Linked DNA regions of Homo sapiens: region 1 is linked to region 2. Evidence: promoter capture Hi-C in human tissues and cell types (Jung and others, 2019). All regions are on one chromosome and are shown on one strand. Each heading gives the region's core, a stretch centred on a gene start or on the middle of the fragment in contact. The rest is flanking DNA. Distances are from core to core; before and after follow the strand shown.

Evidence for each region. Contacts are between HindIII fragments. The study calls those that stand out against the background at their distance.
Region 1: a contact is called between a fragment that was not itself captured here and the fragment with the promoter of FAIM2 in region 2, in 1 of the 25 tissues and cell types used here (liver).

The regions. Positions count from the first base shown.
Region 1 is chr12:51,049,694-51,055,975 of GRCh38, reverse strand. It overlaps LETMD1 (LETM1 domain containing 1), which reads right to left. Exons shown (of 9, transcript NM_015416.5): 3 at 3,769-3,884; 4 at 2,116-2,198; 5 at 1-141. Among named protein-coding and RNA genes, the nearest start is that of LETMD1, 4.5 kb to the right of the region's middle. The HindIII fragment of the contact is 7,302 bases long and covers 1-5,469 here.
Region 2 is chr12:49,900,751-49,906,742 of GRCh38, reverse strand. FAIM2 (Fas apoptotic inhibitory molecule 2) reads left to right here and starts at 2,843. Exons shown (of 12, transcript NM_012306.4): 1 at 2,843-2,965; 2 at 5,418-5,613. The coding sequence starts at 2,951. The HindIII fragment of the contact is 14,088 bases long and covers 1-5,992 here.

The sequences.
Region 1 (6,282 bases), core at 569-3,068, 1.2 Mb before region 2:
ATGAGAGGGATGACCTTTTCTAAATAACTAATAATTTCTGGGTGGGACTGCTTCCGGAAAGCATGATAGATATCTAAGAAATCAGTTTGTTGTTTTGGGGTCCAGAAATGCCTGATCAGTAGTTGCCTGGGAAACAGGTACCTGAAAGGAGAAAGAATCACAAACTCACTTGCTGAAACTGGCTTCTTTCAGAGGAAGCCAAAGAAAGCATTTGGTAGACATGAATACTAGGAAGAAGAGATGGAGACACTATTTCCCTACCTCAGTGTTCTTTTTCTTTTTCAGTTTTTTTTTTTTTTTTTTTTTTTTTAAGAGACAGGGTCCCCTCTCTCACCCAGGCTGGAGTACAGTGGCAAGATCACAGCTCACTGCAGCCTCGACCTCCTAGGCTCAAGCAATCCTCCCACCACAGCCTACTGAGTAGCTGGGACTACAGGCACAGGCCACTATGCCTGGCTAAGTTTTTAATTTTTTTGCAGAGACGGGTCTTGCTATATTGCCCAGGGTGGTCTCAAACTCCTGGTCTCAAGCAATCTTCCTGCTTCAGTCTCCCCAAGTGCTGGGATTACTGGTGAGAGCCACTACAGTCAGCCCTTTCTCTTAAGTGACTCTCAGACCAAAGTTTATAAGACACACTGAAGCACAATTTCAAGCACCATTACTGAAATGGGATGTGAAAGGAAGGACTAGCAGAATAGCCTGCCACGCAGCAATCAGATATAATGACTCATTTTGAACTAAAGCATGTGAAGAGCATGCTTTGGAGAGAGTTGCAGCCTGACCAGGACACTATATGTGATGTTGACAATCTAACTATAGCACAGTCCTTATGTGGACCCAGTATGTAAAAGGCAACTGATTTGTTGTTTTTTTTTTGAGACAGAGTCTCGCTCTGTCACCCAAGCTGGACTGCAGTGGCGCGATCTCGGCTCACTGCAACCTCTGCCTCCTGGGTTCATGCGATTCTACTGCCTCAGCCTCCCAAGTAGCTGGGATTACAGGCACCCGCCACCACGCCTAGCTAGTATTTTGTATTTTTAGTAGAGACAGGGTTTCACTGTGTTAGCCAGGATGGTCTCAATCTCCTGACCTTGTGATCTGCCCGCCTCGGCCTCCCAAAGTGCTGGGATTACAGGCGTGAGCCACTGCACCTGGCCACGATTTGTTTTTTAATTTATTTATCTACGTGTTTGGTGGTTTTAAAACATGACCTCAAATTCTCTGGCACTTGTCTCATGGAGAGCTGAGGTCTACATCCTGCCCTTTTTTCATTCTAGGTGACTGATTCAATCAATAGGACAGAGCAGCAGTGACTCTATGTGACCTTCAAGACAAGGTTATAAAGTCATGTAGATTCTTACTAGAACCCCTCACTCTTGGAGCCCTGAGCTCCCAAGTTAGAAGTCCCACTATCTTGAGGCTGCCATACTGAAGAAGCCACATCTGGGCACTCTGGTTGACAGTTCTAGCCGTGTAGCCATCCCTGCCAGGGCACCAGACATAAGAGTGATATTGGACTTTCCAGACTAGTCCATTCAGCAGCTAAATATCACTAAGGGACCTCTGTCAACCCTATATGGAAGAGAGAAATCAACTGCCCACCTGAGCACTGCCCTAATTCTTGAGCTACAAAATCATGAAAATGATTTATACGATTGTTTTATGCTATTAAGCTTTGAAGTTATTTGTTATACAGCAATAGATAATGAATGACATGCAAGATCACAGTTAAGAAATGTCATTTTTGGATATGAAGTAATAAAAATGTTATCAGAATACGAAATGTACTTTTCCTAAAGAAATTAGTCTAAAAGTACTCTCTCTCGGGGAGAGAGCCTCTAGGGATGATGGAGAAGGTCACTATCTTATTTCACATGACTCAGGGCAGCTAAGAGATAGGGAGAGTCTAGGCCACCTACACTTATAGCTGTGATGTGTCACAGTAACCAAGGTCTTCCTAAGTGGTTTTTATGAACCTTGGAATAATGAGAAGATTGGAGCAGAAGTTTGATAACCTCTGCCTATCTTCTGAAATGAGTGCTGTTTAAAGTAATTCTTAATTTAAAAAAATTGATACATCTTCAAGATGTTGGGGAGATGGAAGTCTGTACTCACATTAGCAAGAAGACCAGGTAGTTGGCAAAAGGTGGAATGGAAATAATACCTAGGAAAAGACACTTGGTGACGTCTTGGCGGAACTAAGCAGAAATAAACACAGATGCAGTTTTAACCCAAATAAGTTGTTAATACAATAGACAATCCATCCACCCCACTGTACAGTAAACTTCTATTACAGCCCAGAAAAAGGACCAAATTTCTTTCTTTTTCTTTTTGAGATGGAGTCTTGCTCTGTCACCTAGGCTGGAGTGCAGTGGTGCAATCCTAGCTCACTGCAACCTCTGCCTCCTGGGTTCAAGTGATCCTCCTGCCTCAGCCACCCGAGTAGCTGGGATTATTGGCATAAGCCGCCACTCTAGGCTAACTTTTGTATTTTTAGTCGAGACAGGGTTTCACCATGTTGGACAAGCTGGTATCAATCTCCTGACCTCCAGTGATCTGCCCGCCTTGGCTTCCCAAAGTGCTAGGATTACAGGCATGAGCACTGCATGTGGTCCCCAAGTTTATTTCTATTTACTTCTGGATGGTTAGTTCCTTGAGGACAAAACCTCTGACTTATTTACTTTTGTATCCCAAATAATGTCTAGTACAGAGCCTGACATTATACCAAATCCTTCAGTGAACTCTTCCTGATCTGCGGAATGGGTCCTAGATTCTTACTCTCAGCTTCAAAACGACCCATCAAGTCACCACCAAATACTACTTTCATGCTGCCCTTTGGATCCTTGCAGACTTTTTTTTTTTTGAGACAGAGTTTTGCTCTTATCACCCAGGCTGGAGTGCAGTGGCGCGATCTTCACTCACTGCAACCTCCGCCTCCCAGGTTCAAGCAATTCTCCTGCCTCAGCCTCCCGAGTAGCTGGGACTAGGACTACAGGCGCCTGCCATCATGCCCAGCTAATTTTTGAATTTTTAGTAGAGATGGGGTTTCACCATGTTGGCCAGGCTGGTCTCAAGCTCCTGACCTCAGGTGATCCGCCCACCTCAGTCTCCCAAAATGCTGAGATTATAGGCGAGAGCCACTGTGCCTGGCTGCCCTTGCAGACTTCTATTTTCATTTTATTATTATTTTTTTTTGAGATGGAGTCTTGCCCTGTCACCCAGGCTGGAGTGCAATGGCATGATTTTGGCTCACTGCAACCTCTGCCTCCCGGGTTCAAACGATTCTCCTGCCTCAGCCTCCCGAGTAGCTGGGATTACAGGCGCCCGCCACCACACTCAGCTAATTTTTGTATTTTCAGTAGAGATGGGGTTTGACCTTGTGGGCCAGGCTGGTCTCGAATTCCTGACTTCGTGATCTGCCTGCCTCGGCTTCCCAAAGTGCTGGGATTACAGGCGTGAGCCACCGCGCCCAGCCCCCTTGCAGACTTTTGTTATGTTCAGAAACTAATTAGATTTTAGTATTTACAACTTTCATTCAGAAAGTGTGCCAGAAATTCTATGGAGCTCTTGCTATGGAGGGCTACAACTCTGGATGAACCCAATTCTTACAAATAATCTGATGCCTCATTCAGTTCAATATTTTGTTCTCACGGCAAAGGGCAAAAGCTTGATCAATGGTGAACAACAAATGAAAGAAAAAACCTTGAGATCTTGATTAAATGTAATTACCTCACCATGAACTTCTGGATATCTGCCCCTGGCCCATACCTGTCTCAAATGCTCCATCTCCCGGTATGGAAGTTGATGAAACTTTATATTGTGCTTCCACATATTTGTCTTTATTCTTCTAGCCTTTTTGGCATCAGCCCATAACATCTGCAATCCTGCCTCATTAAAGTAGAGGACAGAGTGTGATGTTATCCCAGTTTAAATCTTAACCACAGCTTCCTACTCCATGTTCAATCACATGCAAACACTCTCACCCCTCCCCAACGATACTCAAAGCTTTAAACTAGGTAACTTGAAACTCCTGAGGTCAACTCGAATCTCTTTTCTCAACATTTTTTCCCCTAGCACATCGCCTCTCTTCTAGCTACATTTGGCTTCTGTAATCTGCTATGGAATGGTCTCCCTCTTCTGTTTCACTGGTCACTCCTTTTTAAAAATCAAGCTCCCTAACTTCAGAAAGTCTTGCTAAATTAACCCTATGTATTCCCCAGCCAGATATTAATTTAATCTCCTTTCTGGAACTTTTTTTTTCTTTTTTTTGAGATGGAATCTCACTTTGTTGCCCAGGCTGGAGTGCAGTGGTGCGATTTCGGCTGACTGCAACCTCCACCTCCCAGGTTTATATAATTCTCCCACCTCAGAATCCCAAGTAGCTAGGATTACAGGCGTGTGCCACCATGCCTGGCTAATTTTTGCATTTTTAGTAGAGATGGGGTTTCACCATGTGGACAGGCTCGTCTTTAACTCCTGACCTCAAGCAATCCACCTGCCTCGGCCTCCCAAAGTGCTGGGATTACAGGCATGAGTCACTGCGCCCGGCCTGGAACACTTATTTTTGTTTTTGAGATGGAGTTTTGCTCTGTCGCCCAGGCTGGAGTGCAGTGGCGCAATCTCGGCTCACTGCAACGTCCACCTCCTGAGTTCAAGCAATTCTCCTGCCTCAGCCTTCCGAGTAGCTGGGATTATAGGTGCCCATCACCACACCTGGCTAATTTTTGTATTTTTAATAGAGACTGGGTTTCACCATGTTGGCCAGGCTGGTCTCAAACTCCTGACCTCATGATCCGCCCGCCTTGGCCTCCCAAAGTGCTAGGATTACAGGCGTGAGCCACCGTGCCCAGCCTGGAACACTTTTTAAAGTAGTTTAGTTCAATATATTTTTATGATTACATTTTAAATTTTCATTTTATGAAAATTCTTGCATCTAATTTTTTTCTTTTCTTTTTTTTTTTGAGATGGGAGTTTCACTGTTGTTGCCCAGGCTGGAGTGCAATGGTGCGATCTTGGCTCACCACAACCTCCGTCTCCCAGGTTCAAGAGATTCTCCTGCCTCAGCCTCCCTAGTAGCTGGGATTACAGGCATGTGCCACTATACCTGGCTGATTTTGTATTTTTAGTAGAGACGGTGCTTCTCTATGTTGGTCAGGCTGGTCTCAAACGCCCGACCTCAGATGATCCGCCCGCCCCGGCCTCCCAAAGTGCTGGGGTTACAGGCATGAGCCACCGCGCCCGGCTTCTTGCATCTATTTCTTTAATGCTTTCATATTTATCAATGATTTACATGTCATTATATGATGTCTCGATTGTCTTCAAAATAATACATAAGGCAAGTATATAAATAGGATTGGCAGCCATGAGTTATGATAATGAAGTGAGGTTAATACATGGAAGTTTGTTACACTACTCTCTCTACATCTGTGTGTGTTTAAAAATTTCCATAATAGTTGGCCGGGCGCGGTGGCTCAAGCCTGTAATCCCAGCACTTTGGGAAGCCGAGGCAGGCGGATCACGAGGTCAGGAGTTAGAGACCAGCCTGGCCAATATGGTGAAACCCCACCTCTACTAAAAATAAAAAAATTAGCCTGGTGTGGTGGCAGGCGCCTGTATTCCCAGCTACTTGGGAGGCTAAGGCAGGAGAATTGCTTGAATCCGGGAAGCAGAGGTTGCAGTGAACCGAGATCATGCCATTGCACTCCAGCCTGGGCGACACGGTGAGACTCAAAAAAAAAAAAAATTCATAATAAAAAGTTTAAAAACAAACACAAATGCTTTCATCCCTTTCTCTCATTTGATCCTATTTATCTACATGAAAACAGAAAAAGCAGCCAATTTTATCTCTACAAATTAAGGATAAGTAATTTTTCAAGTCCATGAAGCTAGTAATAATTATGATAATGTTCAGATTTGACAATGTAGTTTATTATAGTGTTATGATAAAAGCATAGAGCATATTATAGATTTGGTGCAAAAGCAATTGTGGTTTTTGCCACTGAAAGCCAAAAGCCGCAATTACTTTTGCACCAACTTATAATACTGTTAGGTAACATTTAGATGAAAATAAGTTAACATTTACTTGGCACTTACTAGGGATCAGGACCTGTTCTAGGTACTTTACATGTATCAATTTTTAAAGTCTTCACAATCATGTGATAAATAGGTAGGTTCCATTACTCCCATTTTACACATAAGAAAACCAAGGAAAGAGGGGTTAATTAATTAGTCCAATCGCACAGTGACGAACTGGGATTTGAATCAGGCAATCTGGCTCCAGAG
Region 2 (5,992 bases), core at 1,594-4,093:
CATACCACTGCACTCCAGCTTAGGCAACACAGCGAGACCCTGTCTCAAAAAAAAGTTGGGGGGACATATACACAATGTCAAGGTAATAGAGTCCAACATCTGAGAAACATCATAGCACTGACAATGTCAACATGTCTGAGGAATATAAGGATTTTGTATAATGCTGTACTTTACTCAACCAAATACTTATCAACCCACCACATCCATGTCAGTCACTATTTTAACCCACAGGTGTAAAGCAATGACACAACACCCCCAAACTCCTCCTCTTCTGTAGCTGACGTTCTAATGGGAGAGAGAGAGAGAACAAAACAAAACAAAACAAAACATGTCAGAGGTGACAATTGACATAGAAAACATAAAGCTTAATCAGAAAAAAGGGACTGTCCAATTTGCTGGGTGGGGGTATGCGGGTGGCACTGCTACTTTGTATAAGATCAGGAAGACCACCCCTGAGATAATGTCTGAGCAGAGTAGTGAAGTTAGTGAGGGAGGGAGCCACGCAATGATCTGTAGAATTTCCAAACAAGACACAGCCAGTGCAAAGGGCCTCAGCTAAGCGCATGCTCAGCCCAGTCTAAGGAATGGCCAAGAGGCCTGTGTGGCTGGAGCAGAGTGAATGCGAGAGAAGGAACAGGAGTGATTCACAAACATGAAAGTGCTAAGGCTGATGAAAGTCAGGCTCTGCGTAGTGCCATGTCTGGGAAATATTACTAGCTACAATTGATGGAGTGCATTCCACACACCTGGCACTGCATTCAGTCCAGCTCACACCAAAACTGCTACAGGAGCTTAGAGTGTAACAGGGAGTCAGTCAAAGAAACTTCACAGCGCCACGTGACAGGCGTTACATCAGGGTGCTAGGGAACTACAGAAGAGGAGCATCTAACCCCAACTAGGGGGGGAAGGAGGCTTCCTGGAGGAGGTGGCATTCAAGCTGTCAAGCAGGAGAAGGAAAACACTTCCAGGATGCAGATGCAGAGAAGGAGGGAAGGCCAGAACCTGGACCAGCTGGTCAGAGCTCCAGGTGCAGTGCTGGGGACCAGGGCACAGCTTGCTGGAAGAAGAGCTCGGGTTTGTAGGGTTGAGAGAGCCTCTGGACACGGAGGCCCAGGCTTAAGTGTGTTTGTGCAAAATTGGTGGTTATGGAGTGGGGGACAAAGGGCAAAAAGGGGTGGGATAAAGACTTTGATAATTAGGCCAGGCACGGTGGCTCACACCTGTAATCCCAGCACTTTGGGAGGCTGAGGAGGGTGGATCACTTGAGGTCAGGAGTTGGAGACCAGCCTGGCCAACATGGTGAAACCCTGTCTCTACTAAAAATACAAAATTAGCCGGGCGTGGTGGTGCGCGCCTGTAATCCCAGCTACTCAGGAGGCTGAGGCAGGAGAATCACTTGAACCCGGAAGACAGAGGTTGCAGTGAGCCAAGATTGTGCCACTGCACTCCAGCCTGAGCAACAGAACAAGATTTTCTCTGTAAAAAAAAAAAAAAAAAAAAAAAAAAAGACTTTGATAATTTGTCTGCCTACCTGGGCCCTGCTTTCTCAGGGACTTTAGGTGGGTCCCTGGGCAGTGAGAGGGAAGCAGAAGGTAAGTGGCCACCCCCACCTGTCCCAGGTCTTAGTTTCTCGTCCCATCCTAGCAGGTTCAGATACTTCTTTTAGGCAGATTTGTGGGTGCTCGCTCTGGGGCAGCCCAGGACATTCTGGTAGGAGACTCCTCAGTTAATAATACCTCACATACTTCCAGCACTTCTTGGTCTTTTATGTGCTTTTACGGCCATAACCTGTGCGTCTGACAGTCAATCTAGGATGGACAGAGCTCTGTTCTAAGCCTCTTTTTCGTAGGAGCTGCAGCTCAGAGAGGTTAAGGGCCTTGCCAAGGCCACGCGGCCAGTGGGTGACTAAATTGGGACTTGATCCCAGCTCTTGAGATTGCAAACCCCATAGTGACACTGCAGCAGCTACAGAAAACGGGGCCTGATGATGGCTGGGTCCCAGTGACACGTCTGGGGAAGCGGGGAGAACGAGCTCTGGCATGGGAGGAATGGAAAAGGGGGGAAGATGGAGACGGGGTGATGGAAGCTAAGCGTGGAGGCAGGAAGAGAGCTCTGGCAGGGGTTGTAGAGGCTTTGAGACAGAACTAGCGGTGTCTCCAGAAAGACCCCGTGAAATGTCCCAGCAGGGCTGAAAGAAACAGAAGAGGTGTCCTCCCACCCCATGTCTCTGTGAACCAAGGCAGGGAGGGACCTACTGTGTGCATTTCACAGGCGAGAAAAAGGAGCAAGGATAGGTGGCTATTGGCTTGCCCCAGGCCCACAGGAGCGCAGGGCCCAGGGGCCCTGTTAGAAGCGGGCAGCACAGGCGAGACTTCCAGACCTTCCCCTCTACCAGGGATGATGAAATAGATGATGAGAGGGGAGGTGGAGATGGAGACAGAAATCAGGGCCGCATCCAAAGAGGGAGGAGGAAAAGGCAGAGGCGCAGCTGGAGCTGCAGAGAGGTGCAGAGACAGTGGAGATGAGGCCCTGATGCCCGGCTCTGGTTTCACGCGGGCAGCGTCAGCTGGTCGGTGTCACGGAGTTCCCGCGTCCTCCGCCCGCTCAGCCCCCGCGGACCCATCCACTGGGGTTGCTCCGCAGCGCGACTCTCTCTCATCCCGGGGGAGGGCTAAGGGCGGCGGTGGGGGGCGGGGTGGGGGGGAAGCGGCGGGAGGGGGCGGTGCGCCGCCGCCTTACCCCGGGCTCGCGAATCCGCAGCGTCCTCCGCAGCATCTTCCCAGGCCCGGCCCTCTCCTCCCCCCGCGCCGATGGTACGCGCCGGCTCGCCTGGCCCGGCTGCAGTGGATGTTGCTAGAACCCACGCGGAGGAAGGAAGAGACGCAGGCAGGCTGCGGTTACCCAAGCGGCCACCCGGGCCTCAGGGACCCCTTCCCCGAGAGACGGCACCATGACCCAGGGAAAGGTACCGGCATCTCCCCAGCCTGCACCATCCTCCATCCTCCGGCTCCCGGCTCCCTGTCATCCTCAGCAAGCCCTCTGGACCACGAAAGCATCCTCCCCTGGCCCTAGTTTGAAGGTCCTCCGTGGTCCTTGCTGAAGTCAGAGGACCGAAAGGCCGGTGTCAAGGAATGGACCGAGGCCTCTTCCTGCCCGCAGGCGCGCCTCTCCTCCCCTGTCACCCTGCCACCCCTGCTTTGGCATTACAGCATTACAAGGCTCCTCACAGATACCCAGGCCCCCCGTGAGGAGTCAGCCCGGGCGTCTGGTGTGACTGTATGTGTGTGCATGGGTATGTGTGTGCCAGGGTGAGCCCTGAGGGGCAGTGCCTATCGGGCAACCCCCTCTGGCCCAACCCTCCAGTCCCAAACCCAACCACTTTATGCTCATCTTTCCCACCCTCCACGGAAACAACCCCCACCCTACTCCCTGCCATTGTTCCACATCTGGGCGTCTTGGCTCCATCCCTGTGCTTGGGGCTTGCTATGACAACTCTGCATCAAGATGCTCTAATTGTTGTTTTGGTTTTGGCCAGGCATGGATGGGTCCGGATGAAGCATCTCTTCTCCAGTTTTAGGCCTGAATTGTAGGGGAGGGGCTGGGGCAGAGACTCGGCTGGCCTAGTAGGCTTATGTAACATCAATAGCCTGTGGAATTATACAACCACTAGGGCCTGGGGCTAAGGGGGAGGGTACTCGGGCCCTCTGTTTGGGTTGCTAAGGATTGGGCAGAGAAAACAGGGGAAGGACCTCCCCTACACTCCCCCTTCTTCTCTTTGAGAGGAGCTTCAGAGCCAATGACATCCTTCCCTGGACCCTCAGACCCTCCTCTCCCTGTATGCAAGCTCTTTGGGCCTCAAATGATGTCACTGGGTGATACCACCTCCCGCCATTGGTCACACCTCACTTGGGAGTGCCGTATGTGTGTCGGGGGCCTGGGCATTAGGGTCCAGGAGGCTCTGGGGGGCGGAGTGGCAGGGTGGAGGCTGAACTCGATTTAGGTGGACATGATCCTTCAGATCCGGGTGATGAGGGGGGCTGGGGAGTGGGAGGCAGTGGGAGGCCTGGGGAGTGTTCAGTTCCGTAAACATGGAGAACTCACCCCTTCTGCTGAGTCTCCTTCCACCTCCACCCTGCCTCCACCAGGCCCTTTAGTGGCGCTGTTCCCTTCCTGGTGTGAGGGGGACCTCTGCCTCCTCTGCCCCTTGTCCCCAGCTCACGCACAGGCTTGCTGGGGGATGGAGAAGACCGCTCCAGTTCAGTGGTCCTTGGGCCTGGATGGAACCAGAAGTCTTCTGGTGCGTGCCTGTCTCCAGGCTGCCTCAGCCAGATGCTCCCTGCAAAGAAGGAAGTCCGCAGTCTTCCTCAGTGGCCCTTTAGGTCTAACACAGTCTTCTGGGAACCAGACCTAAATCCCATTTTCTGAGAGCCGGGCTTTTTGTTGCTGTTTCAATTTCACACCACCCCCTCCACCCCAGTCTTTCCTTCTCTGGCTGCCTCATTCAGGCCTTCCCAGCTCAAATCCTCTCACCAAAGCTAAACATGTCCACGGGTGGGGGGCAGGGGACACATCTGAGTGTAAATGGACTCGCATTTCCAACCTGCCATGGGGACGTTTCCCTTTGAGCCTCAGTTTCCTCATCTGTTCAGTGACGGAAGAGACTCAACTGGATGTCTTCTGAGGCCCCTTCCACTGGGTCACTCTGTGAGTCTGTTCTGGTTTAGGGGAGAGGCTGAGATTCCTACAGGATGAGGCCAGAACAGACCCTTAGCCTGGATCCTCTTGCCCTTCCTCCACCCTGAAGGCCCTTCTTCTTTTCTGTTTTCTCCCTCTCCTCTTCCCTTTCTGTTGCCCTTCTCTCTCCCATCTCCATTCTCCTTGCATCACTTCCAGCGCAACAGAAGGATCAATCCCAGTGGATGATGCCTAGGCCCTGCCTCTCAGTGGGCCACATGCAGCTCTGTGACCTTGGATGAATCGCTCTTCCTCTGTGATCCTCATTCTCCTCATTTTAAAGCAGGGGTCAAAATGCAGCTAGCAAGTCTCAGGAAGATTAAATGACATAACCTTTTATTTGTAACAATCTACTATGTGCCAGGCTCTTTTCTGGAACCATAGAGACCCTGCCCCTACCCCAGGGACAATGACAGTGACAACCAATGGTGGACACTCCTAAGAATTTTCTCTTTCCTCTGTTCCTATCCCAGCTCCACCATGTGCCCCAGCTAGCTCTGACCCCTCTGGAGCTTAGTTCTCTTGTCTATAAAATAGAGACATTCTTGTCTGCATTCCTGGCTTCCAAGTGCAGGTAAGGAAGGAACCATGAAAGTTCCAGGAATTGAAGAGTTGGTGAGGAGGAGGAGTTGGAAGGCTCCCTTTCCCTGGTGACTATCTCTCTCTCTGACTCTACTCCATAGCTCTCCGTGGCTAACAAGGCCCCTGGGACCGAGGGGCAGCAGCAGGTGCATGGCGAGAAGAAGGAGGCTCCAGCAGTGCCCTCAGCCCCACCCTCCTATGAGGAAGCCACCTCTGGGGAGGGGATGAAGGCAGGGGCCTTCCCCCCAGCCCCCACAGCGGTGCCTCTCCACCCTAGCTGGGCCTATGTGGACCCCAGTAAGTCTTTCAGCTCCTGGAACCTGAAGCATCATGGGGTGGGGGTGGACCCAGAGGGAAAACCTGAGTAGGAGGAAGTTGTCCAGAAAGAGGTACACTGTGTGGTTGTATGAAGCTGTGTTGTTAGATGCTTAGGATTTGGAGAACTAGTCTGAGGGTAGGTCAGAGACAACTCCATGAAAACAGAGAGAGATACAATGTCTGCATCAGGGTGCTCTCAATAGGGAAGAGGGCATTTTTTTTTCAAGTCACCATGCTAGAGCAAATGGAGGGGACAGATGAGGGAGAAAAGCTAAGGGCTAGTTAAGAAAGAACTCCTAGAAAAAAGAGATACAGAGAAGGAGGGGGCATAGGAGGCTGCCACTGGCCACAGCCTTCA